2 separate regions of the Homo sapiens genome follow, and region 1 is linked to region 2. Evidence: promoter capture Hi-C in human tissues and cell types (Jung and others, 2019). All regions are on one chromosome and are shown on one strand. Each heading gives the region's core, a stretch centred on a gene start or on the middle of the fragment in contact. The rest is flanking DNA. Distances are from core to core; before and after follow the strand shown. Region 1 overlaps TAAR2 (trace amine associated receptor 2). Region 2 holds the start of TAAR6 (trace amine associated receptor 6).

Region 1 (2,700 bases), core at 201-2,700, 49 kb before region 2:
GGGGGTACATGTGAAGGTTTGTTACATACGCAAACTCGTGTCATGGGGTTTGTTGTACAGATTATTTCATCACCCCTGTATTGAGCCCAGTACCCAATAGTTATCTTTTCTGCTCTTCTCCCTCCTCCCGTCCTCCTCCCCGCTCTGGCCCCAAGTAGACCCCAGTGTCTGTCGTTTCCTTCTTTGTGTTCATAAGTTCTCATCGTTTAGCTTCCACTTATAAGTGAGAGCATGCAGTATTTGGTTAGAAACCCCCATTTCAGCTGTTAAAAATGAATATAGTTTAAGAACTGGTTGTACACATTTTAGACAGATCTGGATAAAACTGTTCTGATGAAACTCTTTCATGAATAAGTCAGCTGTTTCTGTAAACAGCATTTAGGGCGTCGGCAGAGACCTCAAATGCAGTTTGGTAGTGTTTCTATTTTGTGGTATGCAATCACCCAGGTGGCAGATATAAAGATGTTTAGTTCTATTGCTCAAATACGTCCCATCATACACCAGGCCATTAGTTCTCTGCAAGTGGGGACGAGGCCCCTGAGGAGGAAGAATAACGAGGAGAAAACTGCCTTGGAGTCGCCACTTGGCATCAGTTGGAGGAAGCTTTTAATTTCAAATCTGTACTCACTCTCTTGTAACTAACTTAATTACTTTAATTTAAAAAAATCATTACCCAAATTTAAGAACAAAATGGGAAATCTCTTTTGACTAATGCTGGCTAAGAACACTGGCTTGAGGAACAACAATGAAACTAGAAGCACTTTCTTCTCTCCCTCTATACTCCCCTCCACCTTGTATTCTCTCTGCGGTGTTTTAGGGGTCCCTGAGAATTCCTTTTAGAAGGTCTCGGAACACATACAGCCTTGTGTCTTTTCTTCATCATACCTTCTGTGTAGAACAGGCTTTTTCTCTTCTGTTCAAATCCTACTCACCCATTGAGACCCAGATCAAAAGTCATATCCTTGCTGGAACATTCCTGTGCAGTCCAGCCTGAAAAGATCTTGTCCATTTTTGATCTTGGATTGTACATTTTGCCTGGATCTCTTTTTGGTCAGGTGATCGCCGCTGTTGCTTTCATCTGAGGTGCAGAATCATGTAGGTTTTAAGTGTTGATGTGCTTTGTCTCTTCAGCTGCATTGTAGAATCTCTGCTGCAGGGTTGACCTTCATGCTTTCTTCTTCCTTTCCTTGTATCTTTCATATTGTGGACATTCAAGAAAAATGTCTTACTCTCTTTGTGATACACTCTTATATCACAGAGGCTGGTAATTTATTTGTTTATCTCTTGGTAACTGGTAAGGTCTGATATGTGTGAGGTCACTGAAGGCCAAAGGCATTTCTTCAATATTAAGAGTTATGCTTTGCATATAGGCAGCTCTTTTTTACCTAATGTACTTTTTAAAAAGAAAATCATTCTAACTCATGAACGTGTTACATTTCAAATATATATGGAAAGAATAACATGCAGATTTTAATATGTAAAATGAGCATTCTGGCCCAACACAAGGAGGGCATGGGCTTAATTTTCTTGTAGTAGAGATGGCTTGCTTTCTAAAAGTTCTCTAGCCCTCTGCTCATAGCCTTGTGTGTGGCCTACGCATGGCAACTTGTCAAGCTGTCATTGCATAGGGCTCTGAGTTACACTTGCTCTTCACAAGTAACTGAGGGTGGTCCAGCTTTGGTCTGTGCCCACCTCTGACTTAGCTGCTTTGGCTGATGCCATGCTTGTTAAGAATTCATGATTTGCCTTATAGATTGACTCTACCAGATAATTAGAGGTCATTAGATGATTCTTCCCCCTTAAAACAACATTCGTATGAATAAAACAAAACACAGCACAGTGAAAATAATAGAACACAAGAATGAAATTGTTTTCAAATAATAACCTCCTGATCCCACAGGTAATAGATCACAATCAAATCAAATCTGATTATATATTTCTGACTCCTTGGAGGAAGAAGTACATGTATTGTCTAATAGATATCTATTCTTCCTACACACGTAAGATACAGCTCAATAATTTGTTTTTTCTTCTTTTAAATTTCAAAGCCTGGCATAAAGTAAGAGCTTCCTAAATGTTGGTAGTATAGAGGAAAGTATGGAGTAAATAATGATTTTTTTTTTTTCTCGAGATGGAGTCTCTCTCTGTCTCCCAAGTTGGAGTTCAGTGGCACAATCTCGGCTCACTGCAACCTCCACCTCCTGGGTTCCAGCGATTCTGCTGCCTCAGCCTCCCGAGTAGCTGGGATTACAGGCACATGCCACCATGCCTGGCTACTTTTTGTATTTTTAGTAGAGATGGGGTTTCACCATGTTGGCCAGGCTAGTCTCAAACTCCTGACCTTCAGTGCTCCCCCTGCCTCGACCTCCTAAAGTGCTGGGATTACAGGCGTGAGCCACCGCACCTGGCCAATAATGATCTTTTAAGCCAATTAGGTTACAATTCTACAAAATTACAAATAAAGATTAAAATAAGTAAATGGGAAAGATCATGAGTAATATTACAGCATAAATTATCTTCCTTGATTCTTCTCTGCCTTTCTTGAGTTTTTCTATGAAAGCATATATAAAACATAGAATATTTATATTCTGACAAAATTCTATCTGTTCTTGTTTTTTGAAGGAAAAATTCAATTGCTCTGAATATGGAAATAGATCTTGCCCAGAAAATGAAAGATCTCTGGGTGTCCGAGTGGCTATG
Region 2 (2,896 bases), core at 275-2,774:
CAAGATTGAATAAATTAAATTAATACCTAAAAGGACTCCTGTGGTAAAATAACCAAAGCAAAAGAAACCAATAATTTGATAAAGGCTATTCACAAATGAAATTTTTGGCAGGCTGGGAAAGAGTAGAAAGCTTTGTAAAGAAAAGAGGAAAGGGAATAAATAAAAAAAAAAAAACAAATATTTTTAGGAAAAATACCAGAGCAGAGGGAAGAGTCAATGGATTAAAAGACAAAAAGTGTCTGCAGGGAGTGGGATATGCTGAGCTCTAAAGCAGTTAACAAATAGGAATTTAACATTTGTTAGCCAAGTAAATACTTTTGCAGAAGGGACAGGAAAGTGCACATCTTAACAAGACTGAAAAACATTGATTTGTTTTTCATTTGAAGAGCAATTTATTTGCTATTCATTCATAGTCTTACTTGATTTTTAAAAACTCATTTCGCTTGGTAATTTTAAAGGTATCCTGAACTTCGTCTATACAACTGCTTATATATGTTCAGAAAACAAATTCATGGTTGCTGAACTGTTCTTTAAAACCTGACCAGTTACAATAACTTTTATTGCTTTCCTAAACCATGGGTAAAATAAAGCATAAATCAAAGGATTCATGGCTGAGTTATAATAAGCACACCAACAGCAAATCTCATAAATACAGGCAGGGGTTATAAAGCCCATAAAGGCATCAATTAATGAATCAATGCTATATGGTAACCATGAAATCATAAATGCTACCACTGTGACCCCCAGGGTTTTAGCTGCTTTTCTCTCTCTCCTGGCCACTCTGGCTTTGTAACTCTCTGAGGATGATTCTGTCTTGCTACCAGTATTTTCTATCTTTTTCGCCTGTCGTCTAGCCACAAGAAATATGTTACCATACAGAATTATCATAATAAAGGTAGGTATAAAGAAGGATAGAAAATCTGTCAACACCCAGTTTTGATTTACAACGGTCTGACAACCTCCTATACAGTTTAGGGCATCAGATAATTCCTCCAGCCCATCGTCATAGACACCTGTGTAGAACACAGCACCGCTGTACATGAGGGGCAGGATCCAGGACACGCTGATGCAAATTCCTGACACAGATACGGTGAACTTGGTAGGATAGACCAGGGGGTCAGTAACCGCAATGTACCTGTCGATGGAGATGAAGCACAAGTGAAAGAGAGAAGAGTAACAAAATGCCACATCACAGCAGGTGTGGAAAGTACAAAAACTCCTCCCAAAATACCAGCAGCTCTCCACCGTCCTGACCATGCTGAAGGGCATCACAGTCACACCCACCAAGAAATCAGCGCAGGCCAGAGAGGCAACGAGAAAATTGGTCGGAGAGTGCAGCTGCTTGAAATGGAGGATTGAAATCATCACCAGGAGGTTTCCAAACACAGCCAGCACAGCCCCAAAGCCAAACACTATGTACAGAATCACCCGGGATCCCGGCGAGAAGGGGATTTTCACACAGGACCCATTCACGTTCGCGTAGCACAGCTGCACAGCCACCAGCAGGGATGAATTGCTGCTCATAACGCTGTTATTTACATATGGAGAAGTTTTGTCCTTGTTGATTATCACAAAAAATACAGGATTGTTCCTGATTTTCAGTGCTCCTGCGGAAAAAAACACATATTCACCAGGATGCCAGAGGAAATGATCAGATATTATCTCTAATATAATTTTTCAAGTTTCCATTTTTATTATAAATCCCAAATGTTTATGACAAAATAAAATTTGACAAAAATTATATTGCACAAGATTATTGGAGATTGTTTCAACTGATAAATGTCTCATGCTCTTAATTTGATAAAATTCCTTTTGATTTTAAATATCCTTTCATATTTTATTTTTACCTTTTGAGTTTCTCTGTGCAACAGTCGCTGATATGGAATGTAATTATGGAGCTGAAAGATCACCTCCTGTTATCTTTATCTCTGTTATCTGTCCTGCATTACCGCCTTAAAGATGAAGTCCTTTTAGCTAAATAAATGCCTTCAATGGGAAAATCCCTCGATGGAATCCCTGTAGTGCGCGGTGTGAACTAGTATGATTATTTTCAACAGTGATTACTAGGAAAGTTATTCTACAAAACAGGTCTCTACTCTATATTAAATTCTATTATCATTATTGTTTTAGGCCAAAGATTTGTTTTTCCTTAGTGCATAGACTTGAACCATTCCCTTGTTCCCAATCATAACTTAGCCACCCGGGTTTTTGTTACAAAGATACAATAGGGTGTAAATAGTAAGCATCAATACTTGGCTCTTTCTCTTCTGTTAAGAATCAATTTTCCATCTGCATTGGTTACCAACAAGCAGAAATTATTATAATACATAGTGAGGGGAACTTGAGATTGATAAAATATATTGCATGAAAGCATTAAAGAACGACATGCTGTTTAGACACACCGGCATTTCTGAGATGCTGGTGGAAAGACCAGTCCTCTTCTCAAGACATTGTTACTGGGAACACATCTGCAATGTGTCTGCATCCACATGACAAATGGGCAGTGAGCCCTCTCTCTCTGACTACGCATTTGTTTGCAATTCCTGGTGACTGGCCTTTGTGCTCCCGATGCTAAAAGCAGTCAAAAAAATAAGAATAATGAACAGGAAACTGGAAAATGGGAAGAGAATCCTCAGTAATGTTCCCAACCCTGGAATGTAAAGACACTGCAGAGTGAAGAAAATATTGTTATTATTATATTATTGTCTTCCTGAAGAAGGGTTCAACTCTCTTTCCAGTACAGGGCTGTGACTTTAGAGACATTTGTGAACTTGCTTTTCAAGTTATAAAGAGTGATAAGTATTATTATTAATCAATCTCGCTATCTGATTCCTACTCAATAAAATTAACACTCTTAACCAAGTAGTTTTCAGATGCTTCTTAATATTTTCTGTAT

Evidence for each region. Contacts are between HindIII fragments. The study calls those that stand out against the background at their distance.
Region 1: a fragment that was not itself captured here is called in contact with the fragment with the promoter of TAAR6 in region 2 in 1 of the 25 tissues and cell types used here (hippocampus).

What each region holds. Positions count from the first base shown.
Region 1 is chr6:132,618,068-132,620,767 of GRCh38, reverse strand. It overlaps TAAR2 (trace amine associated receptor 2), which reads left to right. Exons shown (of 2, transcript NM_001033080.1): 2 at 2,623-2,700. Among named protein-coding and RNA genes, the nearest start is that of TAAR2, 4.9 kb to the left of the region's middle. The HindIII fragment of the contact is 4,774 bases long and covers 1-2,700 here.
Region 2 is chr6:132,568,950-132,571,845 of GRCh38, reverse strand. TAAR6 (trace amine associated receptor 6) reads right to left here and starts at 1,524. Exons shown (of 1, transcript NM_175067.1): 1 at 487-1,524. The coding sequence starts at 1,524. The coding sequence ends at 487. The HindIII fragment of the contact is 8,933 bases long and covers 1-2,896 here.